Linked DNA regions of Homo sapiens: regions 1 and 3 are each linked to region 2. The links are contacts of gene promoters, found by promoter capture Hi-C in blood cells and fetal thymus (Javierre and others, 2016). All regions are on one chromosome and are shown on one strand. The core of a region is centred on a gene start or on the middle of the fragment in contact, and the rest is flanking DNA. Distances in the headings are between cores, read along the strand shown.

What was found. Contacts are between HindIII fragments. The CHiCAGO score rates a contact against its expected background, and 5 or more counts as called.
Region 1: a contact is called between the fragment with the promoter of PARP1 here and a fragment that was not itself captured in region 2, in 3 of 17 cell types (total B cells, naive B cells and monocytes). The highest score is 6.2, in total B cells.
Region 3: the fragment with the promoter of ACBD3-AS1 here is called in contact with a fragment that was not itself captured in region 2 in 1 of 17 cell types (naive B cells); the score reaches 5.7 in naive B cells.

What each region holds. Positions count from the first base shown.
Region 1 is chr1:226,406,435-226,409,722 of GRCh38, reverse strand. PARP1 (poly(ADP-ribose) polymerase 1) reads left to right here and starts at 1,630. Exons shown (of 23, transcript NM_001618.4): 1 at 1,630-1,913. The coding sequence starts at 1,794. RefSeq lists a cis regulatory region at 1,035, enhancers at 963-1,107, 1,286-1,415, 3,006-3,065 and silencers at 1,446-1,705, 1,956-2,055. The HindIII fragment of the contact is 6,506 bases long and covers 1-2,780 here.
Region 2 is chr1:225,444,409-225,447,857 of GRCh38, reverse strand. No RefSeq gene overlaps it. Among named protein-coding and RNA genes, the nearest start is that of LBR, 18 kb to the right of the region's middle. RefSeq lists enhancers at 26-585, 586-1,146, 1,147-1,707, 2,603-2,652, 3,153-3,222 and a cis regulatory region at 2,509-3,048. The HindIII fragment of the contact is 1,300 bases long and covers 1,443-2,742 here.
Region 3 is chr1:226,145,703-226,149,287 of GRCh38, reverse strand. ACBD3-AS1 (ACBD3 antisense RNA 1) reads right to left here and starts at 1,285. Exons shown (of 2, transcript NR_146443.1): 1 at 1,220-1,285. It overlaps ACBD3 (acyl-CoA binding domain containing 3), which reads left to right. Exons shown (of 8, transcript NM_022735.4): 8 at 2,467-3,585. The coding sequence ends at 2,678. It also overlaps the pseudogene LOC124904586. The HindIII fragment of the contact is 12,330 bases long and covers 385-3,585 here.

The DNA of each region.
Region 1 (3,288 bases), core at 381-2,880, 960 kb before region 2:
CACTGTCACCCAGGCTAGAGTCCAGTGGCACTATCATGGCTCACCACAGCCTCAACCTTCAGGGCTCAGGTGATCCTCCCACTTCAGCCTCCCGAGTAGATGGGACTACAGGCACCTGCCACCACCCCCAGCTAATTTTTGTAGAGACAAGGTTTTGCCATGTTGTCCAGGCTGGTCTTGAACTCCTGGGCTCAAGGGATCCGGCCACCTCAGCCTCCCAAAGTGCTAGGATTATAGGCATGAGCCACTGTGCCCAGCCTACCTTCAACGTATCTAACTGGTTACTAACTTTTAGGATTCGGCCTATGTCTCACAACCTTCTTGCTTACTCAACATCCTTGTCTCTTAAGCCACTAGCTTCTTCTCTATGGTTAACACTTTTTATGAGTTTTATTCATCTGCTTATTTTTCTTATCCTCTATACCAGAATTGAATATTTTCAAATAAAGCACACTCATGTTACAATCTTTGAAATGAAAAAAAAAAATGCATAGGATTAGAAAAGAAACCAATTTTAATAAACTATATTTTGAAGTATAGTTCTATATTAAACAACAAGATCTAGGCCAGGTGCAGTGGCTCATGCCTGTAATCCCAGCAATTTGGGAAGTCGAGGTGGGAGGATTGCTTGAGGCCAGGGGTTCAAGACCAGCCTGGGCAACATGGAGAGATTCCCCATCTCTTTCTTTACACACACACACACACACACACACAAAATATCTGATAGCAACAGGTGCAGTCATTACCACAATTTCGAGTAGTGATGAGCTTAATAATATTTCGAGTTATCACCAACAACTGTAAAGTAACATGAAAACGTCTGTGATGACTATTGCCCACAAAGTCACAGGTACTGCTAATACTCCTGGTATTTGTAGTCAAATTCATAATAAAGGAAATGCTAGGTTTCAGTTGGTATTTTGTCCCGACGGTCTGTGGACGGCAGGTTAGAACGCCCGTCCAAGCCAGGAGGGTGGACCTAGCACTGCAGGGTCCACCTCGGGCCAATCAACTATATTCCCGAGGCGGGGGCCTGCGCTTCCCGGACCCAGCTGCCCTCAGGGGAGAGAGGACACACTTAAGAGTTTGGGGCCGGCGTGGTAGCTCATGCCCCTGATCCCAGCACTTCGGGAGGCTGAGGCGTGAAGATCACTTGTAGCAGGAGTTTGAGACCAGTCTAGCCAACTTGGCGAGACCCTGTCCCTAAAAAAAATTTTTTTTTAATTAGCCAGTTGTGGTGAGCGCCTGTAGTCCCAGCTACTCGGGAGGCTGAGGTGGGAGGATCGCTGGGCTCAGGAGTTCCAGACTGCAGTGAGCCATGATGGCGGCACTGCACTCCAGCGCGGTGAGACTCAGTCTCAAAAATAAAAGGGGGAGGGGTTGGGGGTAAAATTAGTTGTGAAATCAAGTAAGACTTCCTGGGACAGAACAATCAAAGGGGTGGCGCCGGGTCCTCCAAAGAGCTACTAGCTCAGCCCAAGCCCCGCCTCGGCCCCCAGGGCAGCGGCCCGCAGAGCTCCACCCGGCAGGCGCCCGGGAAACTCCGCCCCCCGGCCGGCAGGGGGCGCGCGCGCCGCCGGCCCCGCCCCGTGGACGCGGGTTCCGTGGGCGTTCCCGCGGCCAGGCATCAGCAATCTATCAGGGAACGGCGGTGGCCGGTGCGGCGTGTTCGGTGGCGGCTCTGGCCGCTCAGGCGCCTGCGGCTGGGTGAGCGCACGCGAGGCGGCGAGGCGGCAGCGTGTTTCTAGGTCGTGGCGTCGGGCTTCCGGAGCTTTGGCGGCAGCTAGGGGAGGATGGCGGAGTCTTCGGATAAGCTCTATCGAGTCGAGTACGCCAAGAGCGGGCGCGCCTCTTGCAAGAAATGCAGCGAGAGCATCCCCAAGGACTCGCTCCGGATGGCCATCATGGTGCAGGTGCGGGCCGCTGTGCGGGCGGCGGGGCGGGGACGCGGCGCCCCGGGTTAACTGTGTCCGGGAAGGCTGGGGGAGGGCGGGCCCAGGGAGCGAGCGGGCCCGGGCCCTCGGAGCGGCACTTGGGGCCTATGGGGCCGCGGCCGCCCCTCCTCCCGAGCGGCCCGGCCGACCCTTCCGGAAGGTTTTGCTGATGTTGCAGGAAAAGCCCGGGAAATAAAGTCTGCAGCTGGTGTTGCCTTTCGCTTTGTGAAAACGAGGAGCCTCTTCTCTTCTCCTTTCTGGGTGGCGGTGTTTTATTACTGCCGTTCGCCTCAGGGGTTGGGGGGGAATTGTACATGGTCTCTTTAAGCTAATCTGATTTTGACCTATCTTGTTCTGGAGGGTTTTTGTTCTACATGGATGGTGGCGACTGACATGTGGGTTTTTTTTTTTTTTGTTAAACCTATTTTTGGCAGTCATTTCAACACGTCATTTAAACGCTCACTCTCATTTTTTATTTTAATTAGGCAGAACTATGCAGAAAGGTGTCATTTCTGTACAGTACATTCACTTTGAGCCTAATTTGTGCTTTAAAGTAACATTTTCCCCAAATTTTCCAGATTCACAGACGCGTTCTCTTGGTGCATTTGCAGCTGTCTGGTTTGAGTAAGAGTGGCTCCAGGGGGGTTTCTCATGTGGGCTTTTTGATAGATTGAATCCCCTTCTGAGGTTTCCTGAGCCTTCTGTGAGGTGGTGGGCTTGAAGGCCCCTGTCATTTCCCAGGGGCTCCTGCCTCCAGCTTCCAGTTTGCCGATGTCTACCTTTGTATTAATAATTCTGGTTCTCATCTGCCCTGTTCCTCCTCGCTTCCAACATATTACCCAAGCTTAGTGCTCATGGTCAAGGTAGCTTGATTTTCCTCCCTTCCATGAGCTGTAATGTGTTTTAGGAATGACCAGATATCCCTCAGTGGATTTTCAGTACTTAGTACAAGGGAGGGCGACATTTACCGAGTGGATACCCAAGTGCCAGGTGTACTTCCGTTATCTTATTTCACAATATGCCTGTCATCTTGGTGTCCTCGGGGCATACCTAAGTCAGTACGTGGCACACAGTGCTTATTTGGTAGGCATTTTTTAAGTTCTAAGCACTCTGTTAGGTTTTAAGGACACAGAATCCACCTTTGGGAATTTCCAGTTTGGTTAAACGGGAAATGACTGGTAAACAAACGTTACCGTAAGAGAGGATGGATGCCACCTGATGGAGCTGTGCTCTAGGCATTGTGTGCCTAGGAGTCCGAGATGACCCAGCTAAGGGTGGAAGCTTGATTAGGAGTCGTTAATTCACAGAAGTGGAGCAGAAAGATGAGAATAGGGAAGTAGACAGGGCCTACAAT
Region 2 (3,449 bases), core at 843-3,342:
AACAGAGTGACAGACTGACCATAACTGGCCACTGTGGTGTGTGCTCAGCTCCAGACCAGCACCTTATTTGGTGGGGGGAGAGGGTTCAAGGCCCCAGCGAGACAGTGAGTCCTGGTAGGGAAGGAACTCTGGCCAAGCTGCAGGCTGTGCAGTGGAGTGGGTTAGGAGGGGCCCTCGGGGAGGGAAGAACAAGGAGAGAGGGAAGTGAGAGGAAAGGAGGTTTCTCCTTCATCTAAATCCCAAGTATACACCCTTCTAAGGTCTGTTCTGGCCCTTCCCTAGGGAGTGCCTTCCCCTCTACCTGCCAGGTCCCATAGATAAGGATGTCCTCCCCTGCAGGCGCCTGGCCTCCATCACAGCATGCCCACTCTGTGCCCGCTGCAACCTCCTCTGACTCTCCCACTAGACCGGTGCCTGGTACACATGCTCCTGCGTGCATGAACATCGGTCAGCTATGGGTCCTCAAGATGACAAAACCCCCTGCTCCTGTGTCCTCACGGGGATCTGCACCAGCACTGGGCTGAACACTCTCCCTGCAATCTGTCAGTCACGTCTTCTGTAGCATTTTCTTTCTGGCAACAACGGTTGGGGTCATTAAAAGTGTCTTTGAAATGCAACCTTTTAATTACAGGAGGAATACTGCCCCTGGGAAGGGGCCTTTCTTCAAATGCTCCAGGAATTCCTTGGCCAATACACTCCAGGGGGAACACAGCCCAAAACGGGCCTGTGGCTGTGATCAGACCCAGGCATCCTGTCAAAACAGGAGCCTGGGAAGGGGAAGCTCAGGGAAGGAAAGGGGCTCCTCTTGGGAAGAGCAGGGGTGCTGGAGGAAGAAACCCACCCAGTCCCCTTTGGGCCTAACTTAAGATATGCTCACCGGCTCTCTAGCACGCAGTTTTCCCCAGGAGGTCCCTTGGCCATGACCCAAAGTTAGGAACTAGGGGTCTGCGGACGCCTCCTCCTCCCATATCAGAATATGCTCTCCACCGCCTGCACGGTGGCATTGGCTTTCTGGAGCTTTAGGGCCAGCAGGGGCAGCAACCATCTTCCCACGTGTCTCAGGCTGACTGCACACAGCTCCTCTCTTTGTTTTCAGAAGCCAAAAAGAGCCAGGCAGGCCAAAGCGGGAAAAGGGGGGGCTTCTAGGAAACACCTGGGGTGGCTGGGCAGAGGTGAGATGTGACCCTGGCTAGCCTGAGGGCTCCCTGTGGCTTTCGATGGCCAGCCTGTGATAAAGCCCTGAGAACTCCATCTCCTGTGATTTTCCTGGGGTACTGATTTTCCCCTCCCTGGGAGTCTAGGTGTTTGTTTATAATATCCAAGAATGCTAATTGAGATCAAAGTGACTCTGAAGTTCACCCTGGGGGTGCTGCAGTCTGAAAGGTGTTTTGCAAAGACACGATCTTGGTTAGCCCTTCCCTGGCGCTATGCTGCAGGAAGCTTCTCACAGGGAATAGTCCACACTGTAATCTACCTCAGGCAGGTGTGCTGCTGGGAAACTCAGTTAATGATGTCTAATCTTTAAGAGCCATGGGAAACTCAGGAAGACCTAGCTGGACAGATACTACTCAGACATTTTCTCAAATAAGTGTGGCAGAGCCACTCCTCATCTGGTTCTTCCAGTCTTAGTTACCTGCCGAGCCAGGTGTGGCAGGTGTCAGGTACAGGGATCTGGGAGCTCAGAGAGCAGTAGCAGGAGCTTTAGGCTTCAGTTTTTTCTCCCACTTGATGGCCCCAGACGCCTTGGTGAAGTGAAATGCTCCCTGCCTGGGGCTCCAGGATGCCTTCGAGTGACTGCCTTAAGGTTATTGTGTTTTCTTGTGGCTACGCCAGGATGTTCTGCTTCACCAAGCATTTCCATCCTCAATCGTCATGTCCCTACTGAAACTCTGTGTTCTCTTCTCAAGCAATTTTCTGGTAAAAACATTTTCCTGGCTAGCCTGTAAGCATTGCTGTCTAGCTTTTGTGTTAGCACTGATTCAGATGGCCACTACCCACTCTGTGCAGCAGACTTTCAAGACCAAGCAGACTGATAGGCAGGCAGGAGGGTGGAGTTCTCTACCTGCTGGAATGCCCTGAGGCCCAGAGAAGGGATGGACAGGGCATCAGTGTCTCTCCCGTGTCTCTCTTGCCTTCAACCACTGACTCACCCATGTTGTTTCTCACTTAAGTTAAAACACACAGAGGGGCTGTTCTTAGAGAAAGTCTAACTCGGCTGGGCGTAGTGGCTCACGCTTACAATCCAGCACTTTGGGAGGCCGAGGCAGGCAGGTCATCTGAGGTCAGGAGTTTCAGACCAGCCTGGCCAACATGGTGAAACCCCGTCTCTACTAAAAATACAAAAATTAGCTGGGCATGGTGGCGCACACCTGTAGTCCCAGCTATTCAGGAGGCTGAGGCAGAGAATCGCTTGAACCTGGCAGGCAGAGGTTGCAGTAAGCAGAGATCACCATTGCACTCTAGCCTAGGTAACAAGATCGAAACTGTCTTAAAAAAAAAAAAGTCTAACTCTACTTTTGATCAAATTGTATTCTTGCAAACAATTTTGCAAGAAATTGATTGTCTCATTTTGATGCCATGATGACATTTTGGGAAATGTTTCCAAGTTGTTACAGTTTTCTAGCTGCCAGGACCTGGGTGCTTCCTGTGGCAGACAAAGGGTGACTCCGCGCATAGGGTGCCAAGAGGGAGGGCTCCACTCCATTCTGAACTTTTACACATCAGCCTCCTGCAAGATAAGCTTCCTGGTTTTCATATTACAACATGAACCAAACCGCAGAGGTTATGACTTCTCTGTGTTTTAAGCCCTGCCCACTTCCTGCTCACGTGCCTGGTCTGCAACGACCATTTATTTCAGGATGTGAAGTCAAAAGCAAAGCCCAAACAATAGTGAGCGGCTTCTGAGCCAAGCTCGTCAGCCTGCTAACCCACTCAGAACTGCCCCATCTTCAACATGAACAAGTGCTTCTGGAACAAATACCAGCCAATTTCACACAGTCCAGGCCTTTGACATGAAATACGGATCAGCTCTACATTTATGCACGACAATGTCGATTTGTTATCTGTTGGAGTGATTGTATACCTTCGGTGGTAGAACTGAGGTTCCCAGGGGAGCTATTAAGAAAAAAGCTTTTCTGGCACGGGTGCGGTGGCTCACGCCTGTAATCCCAGCACTTTGGGAGGCCAAGGCTGGTAGATCACCTGAGGTCAGGAGTTCGAGGCCAGCCTGGCCAACATGGTGAAACCCCATCTCTACTAAAAATACAAAAATTAGTTGGGCGTGATGGCGCATGCCTGTAATCCCAGCTACTTGGGAGGCTGAGGCAGGAGAATTGCTTGAACCTGAGAGGCAGAGATTGCAGTGAGCCAAGATCGAGCCACTGCACTCCAGCCTGGGTGACAGAGCAAGACTCCATCTCAAAAAAAAAGAAAGAAAGAAAGAAAGAGTT
Region 3 (3,585 bases), core at 36-2,535, 700 kb before region 2:
GCCATTGCACTCCAGCCTGGGCGACAGAGCCAGACTCCGTCTCAAAAAAAAAAAAAAATGAAAGAGCTTTGTGAATAAGAATTCTCTGTTCAGAAGTTGGTTGAGGTAATGTATTTCTCCTGGCTTGCCTATTAGAGAGCTTCTAAAAGGTGGTTACTGCCTAGTCTGAACCCTCAGCTGATGATAGTTTTGGGGTTATATTGGTGTTGGGAAGATCACTAGTGAAAATGGCAGGGGTTCATTTCTAGAGGTAAGAACCTTAATATCCTTGATCTTAGTTCTAATATGTCCCTCAAATGAAAGATGGCATTCCCTGTACTTGTACCATTCCTAATCATAAAATGATTTGCAGCTAAAACATTTTAGCCTCACAGCAGTGAAGCTTTATCATTCCTAAGAATTGTTCATTACATGAGCGTCACTTCATCCCATTTAAAGATTTAGCTCACAAATTGTATTTGTCCATATGCCTTAGAAGCTACTGTCCTACCGTGTCTTGTATTTCATATGGTAGAAGAGTCTGAGTTTTTTGGGTTTTGGTTTGGTTTTTCTTCCTTAGGTCTTGAAAGGTAGACAGAGGAGTTTGCTTTCTCTGAAGAAGCATGGATGGTAACACATCCTCCTGTTTTAATTCTCCATTTTCTTCATTGTTTACAGGTCCTAAACCTTGGCTTAAATTCATAAAAGATGCCTTTTCATCTATCCCAGTAATCTTTAGTTTTATAGATTTAAAACAAAATTTGAGTCTTGAATCAATGGACCAGTCTATTTCTTGGATGTCAACAATAGTGTACATTTTGGATGGTTCTGTATTTCTCATTTGCATGTGAAACATGCTTAATTATAGGTATTTCTGTGGTTAAGTAAATCTGGTTTTGACCTACCTTTATAAGAGTGCCATCTGCTTTTTTAAAATAAACTTTTAATTTTAGAATAGTTTTAGATTTACAGAAAAGTTACAAAGATAGCACAAAGAGTACCCATATACCCTGCACCAAGTTCCCTCTGTTGTTAGCATCTTACATTGTACTGTGGTGCACTCATCACAGCTAATGAAACAATATTGATACATTGATTCATTAATTAACTAAAGTCCATATTTATTCAGATGTTTTTAGTTTTTACCTAATGTTCCAAGATCCTTTCCAGGATGCCACATTATAGTCAGTCATCATATCTCCTTAATCTGCTATAGACGGTGAGAATTTCTCAAACTTACCTTGTTTTAAATTCCTGATAGTGGCCATTGACAAGCATCACTCAGTGTGTTGCCAGAATTCACTCTGCCATGTTATAAACCTGAAAATCCATGCCTGTAGTCCCAGTCTCTTAAACAAACAAACAAACAAAAACAACAACCATAAACCCGAAAGTCTTGTCTTCTGTGCTGAATACTCCCTTGACCTCTTTGAGCTGGTTTGTATTAAATATGTTAAACTGTGACTTCGAAGCTGGTTCATAATTTTCTCATTCCTGTAGGTTTCTAGAGGCATTTTTTTTCCTAACCTCATAGCATTACAGTTCAAAAAACTCTTAACCGGGGCAAACCTTTCAGAGCCCATTTTTTGCCACTTAGATCATCTCTGGGTTAAATTGGCCTAGTGAAAATAATTGAATTTTCAGAGTATCTCTGAATGCCTATCTCTCTACTATGATTTTTTCATTTTACTGCTTATATTTAAGATATACAGAAAGCAATAGTCCTCACAAATCATCTTCCATCTTTCTAAAATGGGGAGGACTCATATTGGTCAGAAGGAGGATGATGAGAGCAACATTTTCATGTTACTCAGATGAGTGAAATTCCTGAGGATGAATTAGGAATTGAATGGCTATGGAAAGGGGAAAATGGGACCTTGAAATAGGAATGGTAGTAAGCACAGAAAGAGATAGGATGCTGACCACTGCTACCACTAGATGTTCATCACTGGGCTCCCAGGGCTCAGAACAGGGTTTGGTGTATAGCACATACTTAGGTATTTGAATGAATGAGTGAATGAATGAATGAATGAACGAACTAATAAATGCTCACATGCACATAACTTGTTAAATGGTTCAACAGAATTCCCAACAAGAGCAGTTTCTCAAAGAAAGGATAGGCTGGGCACGGTGGCTCACGCCTGTAATCCCAGCACTTTGGGAGGCCGAGGCAGGTGGGTCACAAGGTCAGGAGATTGAGACAATCCTGGCCAACATGGTGAAAGTCCATGTCTACTAAAAATACAAAAATTACCTGGATGTAGTGGTGCACGCCTGTAATCCCAGCTACTTGGGAAGCTGAGGCAGGAGAATCGCTTGCACCCAGGAGGTGGAGGTTGCAATGAGCTGAGATCACGCCGCTGCACTCCATCCTGGGTGACAGAGCAAGACTCTGTCTCCAGAAAAAAAAGAAAGGATAGATTTTAATTGCCTGATGCAAGTGTGGTTTTCCTGAATCTGTTCATTGACTTGTCTCTGTTCTTACAGAAAACATCGGTTGTGAAGAGAAAGCCAAAAAGAATGCCAACAAGCCTTTGCTGGATGAGATTGTGCCTGTGTACCGACGGGACTGTCATGAGGAGGTGTATGCTGGCAGCCATCAATATCCAGGGAGAGGAGTCTATCTCCTCAAGTTTGACAACTCCTACTCTTTGTGGCGGTCAAAATCAGTCTACTACAGAGTCTATTATACTAGATAAAAATGTTGTTACAAAGTCTGGAGTCTAGGGTTGGGCAGAAGATGACATTTAATTTGGAAATTTCTTTTTACTTTTGTGGAGCATTAGAGTCACAGTTTACCTTATTGATATTGGTCTGATGGTTTGTGAACTCTTGCTGGGAATCAAAATTTCCTTGAGACTCTTTAGCATTCATACTTTGGGGTTAAAGGAGATTCCTCAGACTCATCCAGCCCTTGGGTGCTGACCAGCAGAGTCACTAGTGGATGCTGAAGTTACATGAGCTACATGTTAAATATTTAAAGTCTCCAAAATAAAACACCCCAACGTTGACCTTACCCGGCTGATGGTTAGCCCCTTGCTGCCTGCTCCATGTGTCTTATGAGAGCCCGTAGTTACAGTGTCCTCTAATTTGAAATCCATAAGTTAACAAGTCTATATCAGGTGCAGCTGGCTTTGATTAAAGGCCATTTTTAAAACTTAAAAACTCAACACCTCACAGATTATAATAGAAAAAGAAATGGCCTCAGTTTGATCTCGTTCAGAATGACCCAGATTGTTTCTGCTTTGGGTGCAGCTGTTTAGTTCAGAGTTATATTACAGAGAATTATTTTCTGAGATAATCTTAAACTAGAATGTTCAAAACTAATTGATAATTGAAGTATCAAGATACGTAGAACACCTCAGAGATTTTTCTTCAGGAACTTCCACAAACTTTGAATCCTTGTATCTTTATTTGGTATTCATACTACTAGTAGCAAAATACAGGTTTTTTGTTTTGTTTTGTTTTGTTTTGGCTTCATAGAGTATCTCAAATTGAAACTTTTCTGCACAAAGAATAAAATTAAGGATTTTATAAACTCAAATTGGCACCTACTGAATTAAAATACATAAAATCATTTAAATATAATTCAGCATATGGGAAGTA